Regions from separate parts of the Homo sapiens genome. Here regions 1, 2, 4 and 5 are each linked to region 3. The links are contacts of gene promoters, found by promoter capture Hi-C in blood cells and fetal thymus (Javierre and others, 2016). All regions are on one chromosome and are shown on one strand. The core of a region is centred on a gene start or on the middle of the fragment in contact, and the rest is flanking DNA. Distances in the headings are between cores, read along the strand shown. Region 1 overlaps BRD9 (bromodomain containing 9). Region 2 has its middle 4.1 kb from the start of SLC12A7. Region 3 holds the start of MRPL36 (mitochondrial ribosomal protein L36). Region 4 holds the start of BRD9 (bromodomain containing 9). Region 5 has its middle 29 kb from the start of SLC12A7.

Region 1 (3,684 bases), core at 235-2,734, 930 kb before region 3:
GCAATTCAAACATCAAACGAAAAACGAAATGTTACTTCACACTCGCTATTGAAATCACTCTAATTATTTGCTAAACGTGAACCCACCCCTCAGTAAGTGACAAGACCAAGCCCTGTTCACTGAGGCTGCTGTTCAAGGGACTGTCAGGTTGGAGCTCATGAATGGATATGCAAATCCATGTCAAAGAAAAACCTACTGAGACCAACAACGCAAACTAACAATCCTTTGTTAACTTTTTGGGGCTAAAGAAATTGGGGAGGGACATTATGCAACAGGAAGACACACAGAATTTTAGGGTCCAGGACTATTTCTCAGGCACTTCACAGAGCACACAACGTTCCCTTTCCTTTCCCAGCAAGGCGTGTCCTCAGGGCTAGACTACAGCCACCCTAACACATACTCTCTCATCAGCTCCCTGCAGCTCGGCCTCTGCCCTCAAACAGATGTTAAGGGGTCTCTCCAGGTTCCCAGGGACCCTGGACCAAAGCCCAAGCCCATGCCTGCTGACTGTCAGAGACACACACCTGCCAATCGGCAGGTGCAGCAGTCTGGGCTCACAGCACTGCCCTGCCAGCACTGGCCCCAGAGCCCACTGTGCTTGGGACAACACCTGCTACTCACCAAGCAGGTCCTGAGAAGGCCCATCCTGCCCAACCCTTGCAAGGGTGTCCCACAAGGACAGCACCCAGCGGGGCCAACTGCTCTGAAACTACCCATTTCTGGATTTGGAAGAATGTACTGCGGCTTCACACCACTCACCTCAAGTCATGAAAAGAGGAGGAGAAACACTATTGATCTTACTGATCAGAAACGGACTCCATTTCTAAACGCCGTCATACACACAGACCTCCCCACCTCAAAGGCTGGATACAACTTTCCCTGTGAGAATAATATTTGGCTTGCCCTTCCATGTTCAAAAACTTACCTTGGCTTCATCTGGAGGCTTCATGGGAACATTTCTTCTCTGAAAAGTAAATGAGGACAGAAACTAGTTTTTCCAGAGTGATTTCATAGAAACGGACAATTCGCTGACATTACACACACGTAAAAATGGCTTGTGCGCTTCTGCGAATTCTGCTCCCCAGTCACACCATCTTAATGGATTAAGGCTGGGGGTCCTCCAAACCTTCTTCATCACCAGTCACTGACCCAACCACGCCCAGCCCCCTCCTCAGCGCCAGGATTGTGTGCCGGGGACAGCGCTCCACAGGGCGAGATGGAGCGGACAGAGAGAGGACGCCGATGCTGTTTCGGCAGCCTTGGGTGGCTTAAAACAAAAGAAAAAAGATGTGCCTAGATCCTATGGGAAGCTTAGGATAAGAAGGGTCTCGTGGGTTCCACCTGGAATATGACCAGTTGCCTGAGACCAGCTCGAGTCCTGCAGGGGCAGGTGTGTGCAGGAGCAAAGGAGGCAGACACCTCCTGGCAGTGCCTGTGGCAGGTGGGCCTGCCGTGGGCGCAGGAGCGAAGGAGGCAGACACCTCCTGGCGGTGCCTGCAGCAGGTGGGCCGGGCCGTGCATTGTCTCCTTCCACAACTGTCGGCCTCCGTGGCACACCCGTCCTGTGCTCCGGTGGAGCGATGCTGTAGTATATGCACTCTATCATGTGTGATCTTTGTTCGAAATAATGTTTCTCAGATTCAATGACATCGATTTTCACAAGCTTTTAATTAGAAAATGAATACTGCTGTTTTGTTCGCATCTGTTTCCCCAAAAGCCTTCAGTCACTTTAGTCCTGAGCATCATTTACTGCGGGGGTGCACTCGGGGTCACTCAACTCCATATCCAAGTTCACTTTCCCGAAAGGAATCTAACTGGAACCCAGAGAGGAAACCACAGAGCCTTCCCATTTCCGGGCTGTGAGGGGGTCACTTTCCCTACCCCACAGCAATGCCTGATTCTAACGCTGTGTTGGGGGGGCCAGCTTCCTGCCTGGAAGGAGCCTGCAGGCCACGACACGGGAGGGTGACCAGAGCTCAGAGTCAGAACCACGAGCTGGTGGGGCAGGCTCTGCAGAGGGGGCTGCTCCTCAGAGCTGCAGAAATCTGCTTGGGGACTCCCGCCTGGCTGCAACCCTCTCTTCAGGGGCCTGCGAGCCCTCCAAGCATGGAAATCAAGGAAAATCTTGAGTTCCTTCAAGGGAAATTCCAGTTACTTAGATAACTCTGAGAAGTAAATCAGCGACTTGATAAGCAAGAAGGTAACAGTATCCTAAAACAACAGTCAAGGAAGGTGGAGACAGATGTTTGTTCCCTGTAGAAAGTAAAGACAACCTCCCAGCACTGTTCCCTGTAGAAAGAAAAGACAACATCCTACCACTCTGGGAGGCTGAGATGGATGCATCATTTGAGGTCAGGAGTTAAAGACCAGCCTGGCCAACATGGCGAAACTCCGCCTCTACTAAAAATACAAAAATTAGCCAGGTGTGGTGGCGCATGCCTGTAATCCCAGCTACTCGGGAGGCTGAGGCAGGAGAATCGCTAGAATCAGGGAGGCAGAGGTTGCAGTGAGCCACAATCACGCCACTGCACTCCAGCCTGGGTGACAGAGTGAGACTCTATGTCTCAAAAAGAAAAAAAAAGAAAGAAAGTAAAGATAACATCTTAATGTATATCCCTGAGTTGTCTTTCAGAAACCTGGACCCTCCACCTAGGACCTCCCCAACAAACTAATCTACTGGCATGAAGGGCTCAGATAAGGAGAAACTGAAGACTGAGCTCTGACCCCGTTCTTTGTTCTGAATTTCTTCCTGACGGGCCTGGAGGAAGCCACACCCACAAGCCTAAGCTAACATTCTTTTCTCTTCACCCCAAATTTTTAAACAAAGCTTCTCCTCCTTAACCAGCTGCAAATCAGAAAACCTTTGAATCCACCTATAACCTATAAGGCCCTGCTTGCAGATACCGCCCTTCTAGGCCAAGCCGACATGTAACCTCTGTGTCCTTATGCACGACTCTGCCTTTCAGTTCTGCTTTCCTGAGATCTACCCCCGCTTTACAAGCCTTGCCTGTAGCCAGTGGGGGAGGCCAGGATTTATACATGAGCCTCCTGGCCCACCTTGCTTGGCGCCCTGCAAATACACACGTCCTTTCTATGACAAAACCTCGGCATGGGTGTCTGGGTTTACTGCACCAGGCATGTGGACCCCAGTTCATCTGTAACAAGCACAGATGAAACCGTCAGGTCAAGGGACTGACCCCTCCTTGGGAGCCATGAGCCAAACGTTCTCAGAGCCTGGGAAGGACAGAGACTCATCCGAACTCCACCCACAGCAGAGACCACGCTGAAAAGACAGGGCTCCCCGAAGGGCCACTCCTTAGCATTAAGGCTACACGAACCCTAGAATAAGGCTGCCCTGGACCCACCCCAGACAAGCCTGGTAGGATCCGGCCATTATCCACAAGTAACAACTGCCAAAATGATCATCAGTATTCTCTGAAAGAGAGAAAGAACCCAGATCAGCCTTGCCCAGCAGACATAACGCGAGCACACGCCTCGTTCTAAATGTTTTTTTATCTTTTTTTTGAGACAGGGTCTTGCTCTATTGCCTAGAGTGCGGTGGTGCAATCGCACTGCAGCCTCGACCTCCCGGCCTCAAGTGATCCTCCCACCTTAGCCTCCTGTGGAGCTGATGACAGGTGCATGCCACCATACCCAGCTCTTAAAATTCTAGCTGCCACATTA
Region 2 (3,575 bases), core at 1,063-3,562, 680 kb before region 3:
GTAAGCACCTGCGGGTCAAGACAGAGACCCTTGCCGGAGCCCAGAAGCCGCTGCAGGCCCCTCCCATCCCATCAGTAGCCCATCCCTAGGGGTCTGGTGGCCCCTCCCTTCGCTCTGTGGGTTTCCGTGTCCACGTATATCCTCCCACACGGCAGCCTGGGGTTAAATGTGCGTTGTGTGACTTTCAGTGCTCTCTTCCTACCCACCTCCATCCCTCTGTCCTTTTCTGTACCCGGCACCTGTTGTAGGAAGTGGCCCTCGGACACGTGGAGGTACCCGAGGCCTGGGTTGGAGCTGCATCTTTCGGTGCAGGCCTCTGCGTCTCCTGGAAGTGGGCACCTGGAGCCAGGGGACTGCTGGGATCCGGGTCCAGTCCCCTGGCAAGGCCGGGGGCTCGCAGAGGGAGCCACGCACTGTCTGGTGGTAGCTCCTCCGTCCGCAGTCGTTGGTGCTTGATGTCTGAATCGACAGATTCATGGAGCAAAATGGTGATTTTCCAGTGCGTGGTGGCTTCGTCATGAATTCACTGGAGGGAGAGGCTCATCTTGTCCGTCTGGCCATCTGGATAATGGTGCCCACAGGAAAGGCAGGGCAAGGGTGCCTCTCCCTCATTTGTCAGTTTCCACAACGGTGAATTGGTTCCCGACAATCTCCCAAGTATATTTGTACATCGCTGATGAAACACATTGGTGGGTCTCAGTCGATCACCATTAGTGCCCTTTCCAAGCATCGGTGTCCAGCTTTGCCCAGGGGGCCTCTTCAAATGCAATCTCGCATCCTTATGATGTGAGCCTGGTCATCTGCGATGGCCTCTTGGCCGTGTGCAGGGCACAGCCAGGGGAACCCTGGGATTTAGTGCGAAAGTGTAGCCGATGGTGGTTACATTCTGTGTGTAGATTCTCGAAACAGTCCCTGCTGCCTGCCACCCTGGGGTGGAGTTTCTAATGGATTAGGACGGACACCCAATGCCAGCTTCCAAGCCAGGAGGCCGCTCGTGCCCACGGCTTGGAATCAGGGCTGTGGCCTGGGAGGGCTCTCACCAGACGCAGGCTGCCTCCAGGTATCTGTGTGCCTCTGCCCACGGAGCTTCTCCCCAGGTCCGCGGGTCCCCCCAGTCCACTTCTGCTTTCCTGTTAGGGTGGGGGGCTCATCTCCTGGTGCGCCATCTGCATCCTTCTGGGCTGGGAACCTGCTGTCGGGTATCAGGCAGGGCGCACCTCCAGGGCTGAAGGATGCAGGTGGGGCTGGCAGGCAGAGTGTCCGTGGAGAGCTCCGTGTCCAGGGAAGGGGACACCTGGAGGAGGCCGGCCCTGGAGGCCCCACACTCCTTCTCACCAGAAAGCCACCCGCCTTCTGCCTGGCAGGGCCGGGCACCCACCCAGGTTCTTGCCTGTTGGCCCAGCACCCATGGTGAGTGGGGGAGAGAGCGAATAGGGCAGAGCAGAAGAGAGAGGGGAGGAAGGAGAATCGGGGGAAGGGGGAGGGAAAGGAAAGAGGTGGGAAGGGAGGAGAGGGAAGGGAGGCCCCAGTTACCCAAGGCTAAAGTGATTTTTAAAAAACAAACCTTTTTTTTTTTAAGCGTGGTGAGCCTCTCCTGGCAGGGTGGGGTATGTGGACATCAGTGGAGGAAGCAGAGTCTCCGGCCACCTGTGGGACCCACACTCTCCCTGCCCAGGAGTCCCACCAGGGCCGAGAATTCTGCCCATGGCCAGGGTGGCCCTAAAGCCCCACATCCGCCACCACCTGTGGGGGCTCGAAGGGAGCTGTGGTAGGCAGGGATGACAGAAGACCCCAGCCACAGCCCCAGGCCCATGGCTGCATCTCCCCTGAAGAAGCAGCCCTGTCCCAAGGGTTCTGCAAACAATGCCAGGCTCTTCCCAGGCAGGCACCGCAAGCTGCCCCCCGCCCCGATCCCTGGCTTGCCCAGGGCGGGGCCTCTGGGCCTGGTGGATGGTGGGCCTGGCCTGGCGCTGGGGAGCCTGTCTGCACAGTGGCCAGGTACGTGGGGTTCTGAGCCTCCCCCGGGTCCTGTGCCTGCTGGGCAGGGGTACATCCCATGGAGCTGAATCTGGGAATAGAAGGGGCCTCCCCTCCCACAGAGCTCGTCTCAGACCATCTGTGTCTGAGACTGTAAGTGACGCCAACAGAAGGTCAAGCTTGAGCGACAAAGCTCTCAGTCCTGTAATTCACGGACACTGAGTCTTCGCTCAAGTTCCCTCTGGAAGATTCCGTGGATGAGTCCGACACACTCTTCCCCTCACTCAGGAGGCTCCAGGATTTTTAGACCACGTGTGTGGCTTTCCTTCTCTCAAAGTGTAACTCACATAATGTTACTCAGAATCTCACACGGACGCCCGTGAGTTGCAGACACAGGGAAGGTTCGCATCTCCTCTGAAGTCCAAGCTGCCCAGAAGCCCACCCACCCCCCGCCAGCTCTCGTTCCTGCTCCACAGGTGACTTCTTTCCCGTGAAGCTTGGGCAAATGTTTGCTGTCGGCTCAGGGGGAAAGGCCATGCCAGGGTCCAGATGGGCTCAAAACCTCCCAACCTGGCAGACACGCAGCCCTTCAGAAATGGAAGCAGAGCCCAGGACACGATGTGGCCAATCCTCTCTCAGACGTCATAAAGAGCTGGGTTTGGAAGACGAGGCCAACCCTCATGGATGCCGCCCCCGACCCCAGCAACACCATGAGATCAGGGATTTGCTGGCTCTGTCTCAGAGCCGCGGAGGGTCCTGCTCAAACCCCAGAGCCGTGGGGATGGGCTGGGGGGCTGGTGGGGAGCGTACTGCGAGGGGCCACTGAGCAGGCTGGGGTGAGCTGGGCCTGGCCTGCGGGGGTGGGGGTGCAGCCTTCGCTGGGGAGGCAGCCAGGGAAGGGGTTCCTACCAGCCCGAGATGGAGCAACGAAGCAACTAGTGAAGCCAAGTTTGCAAAATTATCACCGTTGGTGGAAGGGTTCCGACCTGACTCCATCTTGGTTCTGACCTCCAAGCTGTCCTTGTTCCTTCCTGGGCGTAGGCTGAACTAACTTTGGGAGGAACTTAGTTTATAGTTAAAATAAACCTCCTTCTTGCCTGAGGGCTAGACTGCCTTTGTAGGATTAACAAATTAGCCACAAGATTAAAGAAATTGTGGTTTAGGAGTCATGCAGCTGGAGGCTACAAGATTCTGACCCTCCCTAAACTGCTCCTAAAATCCATGCTTGAGATGTTTTGCGGATCCTTGTTGCGCTAGATGGATCAGCTGGCACCACTCAGACCAATAGACTGGCTCATCTGATCTTGTGACCCCCACCAGGAACAGACTCCGCACAAAAGGACAGCTTCAATTCCCTATGAGTTCATCTCTGACCTGACCAATCAGCACTCCTGGCTCACTGGCTTCCTCACCCACTAAGCTGTCCTTAAAAACTGATCCCTGCCGGGCGCGGTAGCTCACGCCTGTAGTCCCAGCACTTTAGAAGGCTGAGGTGGGTGGATCACGAGGTCAGGAGATCGAGACCATCCTGGCTAACACGGTGAAACCCCGTCTCTACTAAAAATACACACAAAAACATTAGCCGGTCATGGTGGCAG
Region 3 (3,548 bases), core at 263-2,762:
ACCCAGCACCATCCAATCCCTACCTGCAGCCTGAGTTCAGAGAGAATGAATGAACTAAGCTATTCGGAAGGTCTATTTTAATAGGAAAATGTTTTTTAGTTGGAACGTTTTGGAAATAAGATAACGCAATGTCTTCTATAGTTACTCATTTACACTGAAACGTGATGGGTAACTTTTAGGGCGTTTGCTTCCAGTCACTTTCCCCTGACTCCTTGATGTGATAATTCCTTCCATAAGATACAACCATTCTCCCAAGTGATGCGATGACGAGTATGTGCGTGACTCTGGAGGGAAAGGGTCTACATCTGTCTCTGCTTGTGCCTCGGATGGGTTTTACAGTAGACGTACCACCGACCCCGCCTCTTCACCAGGTAACAGTCCTTGCAGCGCTTCTTAAGGACAGTCTTGTTTTTGAACCCCAGCGCAGGCAGCAGATGGGGCAGGAGGCCGGGTGAGAGAAGTGAGCGCACTGCTGCCCCGGGTTCCACAGCCACGGGGGCTGCACCTCGAATGGATCCAAATAGAAATGTGGAGAGGGCTCGAGGCTTCACCGTGTGACGACTGAGATAGAGCAGAGGGTTCACCATTTTCCTTATAAAAAGATTTGCCATGTTGTGGTGAATCTATGGGAGAGAGAAAAAAAGGAGTTATAGCTTCTCCTGCACTTCCACCTGCTCTTTAAGGCTTCCTTTTCTCTGTTTCACTGAGGCTTGGGAAGGCAGGGACCTCGGGGACTGAGGGTGTTCCCATACCAGCTGCAGCCTCGACCTGAGCTTGAACACTGCCTTAATCAGCCAAGTGTGCCAGGAGAATAAGGGGCAGTGGACGGTGGCTTCCTTCCCTTTCCCGCCTGCTGCAAGTGTAGGTGAGTGTGCAAAGCCCTGCGATGTTGAGGAGCCGCTCACTTGGCTGGGAGGGAGCTTAAACTTAGGCCGCATCCCTTTCCAAACAGACACCAGGTCAAGGACGGTTCAACTGATGAGCTCCTCCCTCCAACTCTTCCCAGACCCAGGGGCCCTCCCTCGGGCCAGTTTCGGGACAGGCCCCCGCTCCGGAAGAGCACGGAACTCTGGCACCCCGGTCGCCCGCCCCTGCTTCCCCACGCGCCCCGGCCCTTAGGGTTCAGCGGCCCCGGCTGGGAAGAGCTGGGCCTGCAGGGCCCGGAGGACACTGCGGCACCGGAGCCGGCCCTGCGCGCGGGCTGTGAGGTCGCGTTCGGGAGCCGCCAGTTCTCCCGCCCCGGGGTCGCTGGACACCCCCTCCTGTCGCCAGGTCGGGCGCCCACGGTCGGACCCGCACCCCCCAACCCTGGCCCTCTGAGACCGCCAGGCCCCGGCCCACGCTCCTCTGACCGCAGCCCACTCGGGGAGACACGCCCGAGGGTCCCAAGGTGGCCGGCCCCACCCTCTCGCAGCCCCCACTCTCAAGACACCCGGGACCCCTGACCTGAGAAGACGGCTCCCTTACCCGGCCGCACGCTCTCACCCGGCGCCGACCCCTGCGTCTGCGCACTGGCACGCGGACGCTGCTGCCAGGAAGGAAGATGGCGGCGGGGGGGGGGGTCACGTGGCGTGCCCACGTCCAGTGCGGGGCGCAGAGACGCAGCAGCGAGTGCGCAGGCGCTGGAGTGCGACGTATCACTCCCCGACTGCGCGCACTCTGCGGGCCACCGGGATCGTCGTGCTGTTTGGAGCGCTCTCGGGAAAAAAAATGCAAAAACCAGGAACGAAAATGGATATCCGCAACGAAAAAGAAATTACAACCACTTAGGCCTTAGAAAAAACTGGCAAATACCAATGTCAAAACAAACTGAGAAAGAGGACATGTTTTTAAGTGGACAGGAGAAATGTAAACAGGCTCCGGGAAACGAGTGGAGACGGGCAGTAGTTTCAACTGGTTACGGCTGTTTTCCCCAACATTATGAAAAACTTCGGACATAGAGAAAAAGGGAAAGAACTGTACGGTGAACACCCATATACTTGCCACCTAGATTCTACCCTTAGCTCGCTTATCCCTGCCTTTTCAGGTATCTACCCGTAACTCCATTCGCCTTCCTTTTTGTGTGTGTCCGGGTGAGTTGCAGACGTGGCTGCGTCCACTCCGCGCTCCCTGCAGGCCCCAACGCTTCATCGCAGCGCCCACTTTTTCCACCTGACCCGGCGAACACCGGGCGGGCCGCTGGAGTTTATCAGCTCCAGGACAAATCTGCCTCTGACCACCACGTTTGCTGGGACATCTTTGGGACCGGAGGTTTTCATGTGCATTCTTGTTTCTCATGCCTTTCCTCCTCTTTATCATCTTCCCCGCCACTCATCCATCTCTAGTGTTTTGTTCTTGGAGTCACGTGGTCCTCAGGCTCTGACCACAGCAAAAGAAAAGCTGGATGCTGGAGCTTAAGCTGGGATTTATACCCAAGTCAACTCTAAGCAAAACGGGCCTTTTTAGAGGCTGTATTTGCATGCTGTAAAATCAGTCGGTGTACTAGGCTTTGTTGCAGAAATCCCCAATATACGTTTCCTCTGCGGCTCCCCGTAACCACACACAGGAACGCTTGCCTTGAACGAGGAGAATGCACTTCCAGTCTCGTCTGCTAAGCAGTTGACTCCTTCACCCAATAATTTTGATATTTAAATGTCTCATGATTATCGGTTACCATAAGAATATAAACAATGTATTTTCAGTTTACATCCTCCCCTGCCTGTCCGCTAAATAAGAACCACTGGGTACTCCTAATCGCTGAAGGTTTCGCACACCATTGCCTGCCTCATCAGGGCCCTAGCTCTAGCCTGCGGCTGCAACTGCATGAGGCTGCACCTGCCGGCGCAACGGGGCCGCTTAACTTTTAGGCCATTGATGAAAAGTCAAACAAGCGCACAGTACTCGGTGTAATCAGGGGCATTTTTAGCGAGATACCTGGGATGAAAACGGGTGACCACCTGAATCAGAGAGCAGCTCCGGCGCACCCTCTGCCCCGACCCGCGCTCCCCGCCCCCAGGGCGAAATAAATACCGGGTGTTTGGCGCCGCCAGAAGCCGTGCGCATGCGTTAGCGCTAAGCGGGACGTTGCGCCGGGTCAAAGGCCAGCGGCGCAAAATGGCGGCGGCGATGACCTTCTGCCGGCTGCTGAACCGGTGTGGCGAGGCGGCGCGGAGCCTGCCCCTGGGCGCCAGGTGTTTCGGGGTGCGGGTCTCGCCGACCGGGGAGAAGGTCACGCACACTGGCCAGGTAACGGCCGCTGGGTACAGGATGCACCTTCCTCCAGCCGCACCTCGGGCGACTGGTGGCAGTGGGCTCGCCGGGCATCCGCGGCCCTGGTTCTGCGCCGGCAGCGCAGGTCGTGGTAAGGTTGTGCTGTCGCTCACGCGCCGGGGAGGACGCCCGCGAGTCGGGACGGTGGTGGCAGCCTGTAGCGGTGGGTCTCGTCCTTCCAGGGCCTGCGGGCTCTGGAACGGGAAGTCTCCCCAGCGGGCAGCACTTGCTGTGGACTGGCTGCCCATAGGCGATTTGTGGCAGCCGATTATTTGGGTCAGAACGTTTAGAATTTGTGT
Region 4 (3,607 bases), core at 547-3,046, 910 kb before region 3:
CAGGCCAGAGGACACCTGGGATGAGGCCCTGGAAATACCAGCTCTCCTCCCTCCCATGCTTCTCCCCAAAGCAACAGGACACGGTGCCGACCCCTCATTTACAACGATGAGCTGTGAACACCAGGAGAGTCTCTAAAAGTGCACCCTTGCCTGGCTGTGTCCGGCACGCTCGGACTGGCCGATCTGGGGGCGGCTCCACCTCCACCTTCTTCCCAGGATCAAAGTCGTCAGCCTCTCCCTCCGTGTCACAGTGCTCCCTCTCTCGCTTCCGCTTCTTCTCTTCCTGGGCGGCAGAGTCAAGGGAGTGAGAAAGGCAGGAGTAGGCGGGATCCGGACAGGTCTGCCCAATCCCCTCGCAGTTCTCAGGGGAGGGACAGAACTAAGGGAAACCCCCTCCGAGATCCTCCTCATGCCAGGCTCCCTCCTCACAGAGACCCTGGCAGGGTCTGCTGAGGAACAGCACACCCAGGATCCTGGAACTGAGTCTGCGGGCCTCAGCGGTTCGCGTTTTGCTACCAACGGAACACCCCCTCCCCTCCTCCAGCCACGCAGGCGCACTCTGCCTGGGTCCTGGGACCAGGCTCCCCACGGGCTCCTCGTGGGCAGCGTCCGGGCCACCGCCGCTGCTCCTTTACCTTTCGCTTCCTTCTTTCCTCATCGTCCAGATGCTTCTCCTTCTCGGACTTCTTCTTCTTCTTCTTTTTCTTTTCTTTGTGCCTCTCTCGCTCATGGTCTGACCTGTCATCATAGTAACTGGAGTCGTGGCCGGATCCTGAGAGTTCAGTCACTTCACTTCCTCCGACCTTCAGGACTAGCTTTAGAGGCTTCTCCAGGGGCTTGTCGGCATAATCTGCACAGACACAGACCGAGTTCTACCCGCGTGCTCAGGTGCAAACGCCACGCAGCCAGGTGAGACGTGAAGGTGCTAAGAGGGAAAGGCCTCCCTAAGGAGTACAGCGGGGCTGCCAACCAGCAGGGAAAGACGGAAGGGAAGACCACAGTGGCGGCATGTCACTGCCTCCTTGTTCTCCCTTCCCCTCCGCAGGGAGCTTCAGGTCCCTTTCGAGCCACGGTGTCCTCACCAGAGGCCCTGTGGGATGTTGTTCACATTACTCGTTCAAGAAGATGGATTAAGAGGGACCTGGAACCCCGGAGCCCGATCTCCCTCCTAGAAACCCCCAGCACTTCGGTTCACCCTCGCCTGACTTCCTGCAGGCGCCCGTGCTGCCCGCTGACACCCATGGAGCTGCTGCGGGAGCAAGGGAGAGGGAGGGAAAGGCGGGAGAAAGGGCAGCCCAGCTTCTCCCTGAGCTCCACACAAAAGCCAGCACAGATGCTTCCCTAGTCTCCAGGACCGGGGTGAGTGGGCTTGCAGCCTCGAACCCAGAACCCTCTACCAGGAACGTAAGCGCCTACCCAGGACCCCTCACGTGTGCCCGGTTCCCTGCCCGAAATCCCAGGACCCCCTCCCGCGTGCCCAGAACCCCTCCCTCGTGGCCAGGACCTCGCCCGGTGCCCAGGACCCCCGTCCGCGTGCCCGGAACTCCTCCCCCGTGCCCGGGACCCCGCCCGCCGCGCGTCACAAAGCGCCGCCGCCTCACCCTCGTAGGACGAGCGCCACTCGGCCTTGTGCTTCTTGTGCTTCTTGCCCATGGCGGCGCCGGCGGCGGGCCCGAGGCGGGGGCTGGGAACAGCTGGCACCCGGTCGGACCTTGGCCGCCACCGCCCCCTGGCCCTGGCTGGCCGCCCGCGCTCGCTGCGCCGAGGTTGCCGAGCTCGCTGGGCCGCGCCGGAAACGGGGCGAGGCGGGGCCGCGGCAGGAAGTGGCCCTGCCGGGCCCGAGCGCTTCCGGGTCAGGAGGTGGTGCGCCTCGCGCGGCAGATTCGAAGCTAGGGCGGGGCCCGCGGGCTGAGGCAGCGGCTGTGGCGGCGACGCTGGGCGTGAGGTGGCGGCGGCCGCGCCCTGGTTGGGTCCCCACTGCTCTCGGGGGCGCCATGGACGAGGCCGTGGGCGACCTGAAGCAGGCGCTTCCCTGTGTGGCCGAGTCGCCAACGGTCCACGTGGAGGTGCATCAGCGCGGCAGCAGGTGAGCCGGACCTGTCCGACACATCCTCTGGGCACCCACCCGCCCCGACCCCAGCGCGTGCACCGAGCCCCGACCCCAGCGCACTGATTCTGATGCGACCGAACCCCAGGGTACTGATCCGGCCCGACTGGACCCGGGCGCACAGGCCGCCGGGCCCCGACCGGATCCTAGCGCAATGACGCGACCCCACCGCAGGGCACTGACCCGGCCGACCCGAGCCCTGCGCGCAGGACCCCAGCTCACAGATTGAGCCCCGACCCGACCTCAGCTCACGGACCTGGCCCTGACCCTGCCCCTGCCCCGGCTGTCCTCCAGTGCATTGATGTGGCCCTGAGTCCCACGTTGGAGAATAGGATGGCTGCGCATTACAGAGAGCTCTAGTCTCAGCCGAAAGCTGGGTGGTTATTCTTTGAGCCACTGCTTCTCAGACCCTTTAATTGTTCCCGTTCCTCACGGACTCGATGTTAAATTTTTAGGGTTCAAAGCACATCCCACTCATTTGTGACCAAGTCAGTTCATGGTATGGTGGGGCCTGTGGGCTGTGCTGCTCCCTGGAGTGGGGGGAACTCAGCGGCGGGGCCAGACCTTCACAGACCCTCCTTATGTCCACGGAGGGTGGATTGAGGTCAGGTGAGACCACCAGCCTCAGAGGGGATGCAGAGGAAGAGACCTTTCCTTTAACAGAATAGCTGTTGACTGGGTATTTTCTAGGTGCTGGAGTTCAGACACGTCAGCATAATTGCACCAGGGCCCAGAGACACCTGCACAAAGCCCCATCACAGCCTGGCGACACCTGTGTAAACACCTTAGCGCTCAGAGACACCTGTACACAGTGCCACCGCAGCCTAGAGACACCCCATGTACAACCACACCTGGGCCCAGAGACGCTAGGCATAATCACACCAGAGCACAGCTGCACCTAGAGGACAGACACCTACGTACAACTGCACCAGAGTTCATAGACACCTGCACACAACCGCACTATGCATGGTGGTCGCTGCTTGTAGGGTGCTGGGACGATTGCAAAGGGGCCACATGTCACCTGCCTGGCTCTGAGGAGCCTGTCCAGGAGGGCTCAGAGGGAGGCAGACATTGAATAGGACTTAGAGGGTGACTGCAGTTGATCAGGCCAGTAAGCTGGGACAGTGCATAGCAGGGCACAGAGGTGTGATCCGGGACCAGGTCACTGTTGTAGAAAGGGGAGGTGTTAGGAGGACTGCAGCAAGGGGGACCAAGGGAAGCCCTGGATACCAAGCTGAAAGCATTAGATTTTCTCAGCACGAATCACGGCTATTGGAGACTTGTTACAATGCAGACCCCAGGCCTGACCCCACAGCTGTGGAACTTCATTAGTAATAGTGAAAGCCAACATTATTGCGTGCTTACTATGTGCCAGGTATCGTCCTAAACACTTTGAGTGTATTAATGACTTCACAGTAGCCCAGCATAGCGAGAACTCTTACTGTTGTCCCCTTTTTCTAACTGGGAGCTGAGGCACAGCTTCTTCAGGGCACAGCTGGT
Region 5 (3,806 bases), core at 214-2,713, 660 kb before region 3:
CACAGCTTTCTACCAGGTCCTTAACACATGCTGGGTCCTAACATGTGCCCTGAGGTGAGCCGGGGATACTCGACTCCAGGGCACTGGCCAGAAGCCTTGGACCTGCACCCACCACCCAGGCCTCTGAAAGGAGAGCAAGCTGAAGTCTTGACTTTGAAACAGCTGCAGGGGTCGCCCCTCACCCAAGCTTGGGGTGGGGGGGGGGCTCTGGGCGGCAGCAGGTGCACTTTGGGAGCCTCCGATGGTCCCCACAGCTGGGCTCCCTCCTCATCCCCATGGGCGTAGCCCACCAGGTGGCTGCTGAGTCCTCATGGTCCGTAGGCAAGAGGAAGGGGGAAAGTGTGAGCCCTTGGCCTCCACGGCAGCCGGCTGGGATCCTGGCGGGGGACCCTCGCTGGTAACAGCATCTCCCCAGGACGTGCGGCCCCAGTGCCTGCACCCAAGCCCAGCCCTGGTGGGGAGCAGCCCCTGGAAGGCAGGAACCACTCCAGGCAAATGCAGCTGGTGCTCAGCTACATCCTCACGAGGGCCCTGGGCCCCAAACCAAGAGGCGGCTCAGCCTGACAGATGCGGTTCTGGGAGCTGGGGCGGTTGACACTGCCTGGGCCTTGCCGGCTTGGCCTTCTCTGAGGGGTGGTGTCCACACAGCAGCAATGGTGCCACATGCCGGAACCTGGAACCGAGGTTGCCTCGAGAACTGTTTGGGCAGTGGCCCTAGCGGGTGTGGGTGCCGGGAAACAGGAGGCAGAGTGGCCCCCATGTTCCTCTGTAGGCGTCCGCACAGCCTGCCTTCCCCGAGTGCACACGGCGAGCTTGCTTGACCCTGGGGTGGCCACGGCCCACTTTTGTGACCCACGTCCCTCCTCCCGGCAGGCCCCGTGTCTTTGGGGAAGGTGAGTAATTCTGAATCTGGTTCCCGAGCCCCACTTCCCAGTCTAGGGCCACTACGTCCCCACGGTTCTGGGACACTTGCTGAGACAAAGGCAGATTTTGTGAGTCAAAAGGGACTTTCCACATCTCCAAACGGCGTTTCCGGATGCATGGGCCTCAGGGCTCTGATCCCAAGAAGTGCCAAGAAGACCTCTGTGGTCACAGATGCGGACCAGGCCGGGACATGCTGGAAGGTGTCAGGACACGCCCGGCCTGCACCTCTGTCTCCCAGAGCATCCCAGGTCTCAGGGCATCAAACGCTCCGAGGTCGGTGACCAGGCACCACCGCCTTGGCCTCAACCAGCACCCCAGAGGCGCCGTCCTGCCCTCAGAAGGCCCCCCAGAAACGCTGTTTCCCATCGCTGGCTGGCTGTCTCGTACCAGCCGCTGCAGCCCCGGCCCACCTGCATGCAGGGAGCAGGGCCCCATGGGAACCCAGGCAGATCCCCCTCCTGAGAAAGGTGGCCCTGCCCCAGCCAGCACATCCCAGGCGATGAGGCATGTGATCCCCATGGCCCCTCGGGTGAATCCTGACCGCCAATCTGCACACACAGCCACACCTGCGTCTCCATCTCCCTCGGTTCTGTTCCCCCCCACCGGGTCTGGAAGACACTGGTAAGCAGGGGAGGAGGAAACAGGTGCAGCTCCAGCGAGGCGGTGCTCCCTGCTGGTGAGTGGGTGCCCCCTGCTGGTGAGGGGGGGTGCTCCCTGCTGGCTTCCCCTCCCCACAGCTGTCCCTGGAGGGAGGCGTCATTCTGTAAACAGGGAGATGGGGTTCAGGACGGTGCCAGCATGCCCAGCAATCCCGGAGTTCCCCGTGCTCAGGAACTCGCACCGCTGGCTCCACGCTCTCTACTCCAGTGGGACAAGAAAGCTCTGCTCACCAGGCAACGAGAGGCGCAAGGGCGGAGCCCAGGGCCCCGGGGAGGGCTCAGGTGGCTGGCGGAGGGGGTGCAGGGAAGGGAGATTCACCCAGGAGGGCCATTGACAAGCACTGGCTGGGGAGGGATGTGGTCACTGCACCGGCATGACAGCTCGGAGTAGCTTCTAGGTGACCACGCCATGGGAGAATGTTCTGAGGGGAACCCCTTGGGAGGCTCAGCATGAGGCAGAGCCGTTGGGGGCTGCAGCCAAGGTGGGCAAGCTGGGCCTGGGCCAGTTCAGAGCAGCCAGGCTGAGGGGGAGGGTGGACACGGGACGTTTATACCAATACGCTCGGGCCGCTGTGGAAATGAGTGCAGCCAGGCTGTGCACACCACAGACACGTCTCGAAGCCTCGGGCCTGAAGTCCCAGGTCAGTGTGTGGCTGGGCTGCTCCCCTGAGCTGTAGGCGGGCACCGGTTCCGGCCTCTTCTTGGCTTGCAGGCCCCAGCTTCTCCCTGTGTCTCTGTATCGTCCCTGCTCTGTGAGTGTCTATTTCTGTGTCCAAATTCCCCCTTTTAATAAGGACACCCGTTATATTGAATTAGGATGCACCCCTGTGAGCTGTCACTTGATGACCTCTGCAAACAGCTCCCTCCCAATACCATCACATTCTCAAGTGCTAGGCAGTAGGACCCCCAGTCCTCTCCCAGTCCTAATGGAGAGATGTCACTGAGCCTGTAACTTGGCTGTCCCAGCCGTCCCTGCTGCCACGGGCACCACAGCCGCCATGGGCACCAGAGCCGCCACGGGCACCACAGCTGTCCCTGCCTCCCTCTCTGTGCTCTCCCCTGGCTTGTTTTCTGTATCTCCTGGGATGGAGGCTCCCTGGGGACTGTCTTCCCCACTGTGTCCTCAGCACCCAGACCTCACTGGGACAGCAGCCACTAAGCTTGTGTGGTCACTGAAGTTTATATTTAAGTTAAAATTTTTTTTAAAAAATGAAGAATCCAGGTCCTCAGCCACAGCAGCTACAGCTCAAGTGCCGATAGCCACATGTGGCCGGTGGCTGCTGCATAGGACAGCGTGGACAAGGAATAACTCCGTTGGTGCAGAGAGGCCACTGGACACTCAGGCAGAGACAAGAGGGTTCGCCGGGACAGATCAACAGATGAACAAATTCAGAACAAAATGCTTAGTGAGGGAGAAGTGAACTTTCATTTTGCCCAAGTCACCATTATCATGGGTGCTGCTGGCAGGATCAGACCTGGTCATGTGGAGTCTGAAGTGCTCCCAGCCACCAACTGTGGCTGTTGCTTAGAGATACCCCTCTTCCCTGCAGCCCTGCAGGACTTCCCGGGGCTTCCTGGCCTCCACCTTTGCTTCTGGTGCTAGAGGCGGGGCAGGTGGCGTCAGGGTGGCCACTCCCCTCCCCAGAGCTGCACTGGGCCGCAGTCAGTTCACCCGGCCACCCCTGGCAGCATCTCTGGGCCCCAGACAGGGCCCCTCCATACAGAGCCCAGACGCTCCACAGGGCAGGGGCAGCCCAGCCCTATAAGCCCTGGTGCCCCCATAATCAGGAGGAAGAAAACCTCCCCCGTCTCCTGTCCCCTCTCTCCCCTCTCCCCTCCCCCCTCGCCCCTCCCGTCTCCCCTCTCCCCTCTCTCCTCTCCCCTCTCCCCTCTTCCCTCTCCCCTCTCCCCTCCACCCTCTCCTGTCTCCCCTCTCCCTTCTCCCCTTTCCCCTCTCCCCTCCTCACTCTCTCATCTTCGCTGTCCCCTCCCCTCTCTGCCCTCCACTCCCCCCTCCCCTCCCCCTCCCCTTTCCCCTCCCCACTCCCCTCTCTCCCCTCTCCCCTCTCTTCCCTGTTCTCTGCTTCTCTGTGTGTGTCTCTCTCTCTGTCTCTCTTTCTGTCTCTGTCCATCTGTCTCTGTCTGTTTTTCTGTCTCTGTGTCTCTGTCTCTCGCTGTCTCTGTCTGGCTGTCTCTGTCTCCCTGTCTCTCTGTCTCTGTCTC

Evidence for each region. The method cuts DNA at HindIII sites, captures the fragments that hold promoters and counts their contacts. A CHiCAGO score of 5 or more calls a contact.
Region 1: a fragment that was not itself captured here is called in contact with the fragment with the promoter of MRPL36 in region 3 in 1 of 17 cell types (monocytes); the score reaches 6.7 in monocytes.
Region 2: a fragment that was not itself captured here is called in contact with the fragment with the promoter of MRPL36 in region 3 in 1 of 17 cell types (monocytes); the score reaches 5.4 in monocytes.
Region 4: a contact is called between the fragment with the promoter of BRD9 here and the fragment with the promoter of MRPL36 in region 3, in 2 of 17 cell types (monocytes and neutrophils). The highest score is 9.2, in monocytes.
Region 5: a fragment that was not itself captured here is called in contact with the fragment with the promoter of MRPL36 in region 3 in 1 of 17 cell types (monocytes); the score reaches 12.4 in monocytes.

Annotation. Positions count from the first base shown.
Region 1 is chr5:870,601-874,284 of GRCh38, forward strand. BRD9 (bromodomain containing 9) reads right to left here. Exons shown (of 16, transcript NM_023924.5): 13 at 926-964. Among named protein-coding and RNA genes, the nearest start is that of BRD9, 20 kb to the right of the region's middle. The HindIII fragment of the contact is 353 bases long and covers 1,309-1,661 here.
Region 2 is chr5:1,114,372-1,117,946 of GRCh38, forward strand. It overlaps a transcript of SLC12A7 not described here. Among named protein-coding and RNA genes, the nearest start is that of SLC12A7, 4.1 kb to the left of the region's middle. RefSeq lists an enhancer at 3,045-3,575. The HindIII fragment of the contact is 317 bases long and covers 2,155-2,471 here.
Region 3 is chr5:1,798,325-1,801,872 of GRCh38, forward strand. MRPL36 (mitochondrial ribosomal protein L36) reads right to left here and starts at 1,513. Exons shown (of 2, transcript NM_032479.4): 1 at 1,468-1,513; 2 at 61-623. The coding sequence starts at 611. The coding sequence ends at 300. NDUFS6 (NADH:ubiquinone oxidoreductase subunit S6) reads left to right here and starts at 3,083. Exons shown (of 4, transcript NM_004553.6): 1 at 3,083-3,225. The coding sequence starts at 3,094. RefSeq lists a silencer at 983-1,392 and enhancers at 2,473-2,522, 2,583-2,712, 2,892-3,548, 3,323-3,462. The HindIII fragment of the contact is 7,489 bases long and covers 1-3,548 here.
Region 4 is chr5:891,005-894,611 of GRCh38, forward strand. BRD9 (bromodomain containing 9) reads right to left here and starts at 1,797. Exons shown (of 16, transcript NM_023924.5): 1 at 1,602-1,797; 2 at 636-850; 3 at 151-283. The coding sequence starts at 1,653. TRIP13 (thyroid hormone receptor interactor 13) reads left to right here and starts at 1,880. Exons shown (of 13, transcript NM_004237.4): 1 at 1,880-2,086. The coding sequence starts at 1,995. RefSeq lists silencers at 1,138-1,356, 1,547-2,166 and an enhancer at 1,166-1,798. The HindIII fragment of the contact is 13,625 bases long and covers 1-3,607 here.
Region 5 is chr5:1,138,873-1,142,678 of GRCh38, forward strand. It overlaps a transcript of SLC12A7 not described here. Among named protein-coding and RNA genes, the nearest start is that of SLC12A7, 29 kb to the left of the region's middle. RefSeq lists an enhancer at 1,622-2,465. The HindIII fragment of the contact is 2,556 bases long and covers 186-2,741 here.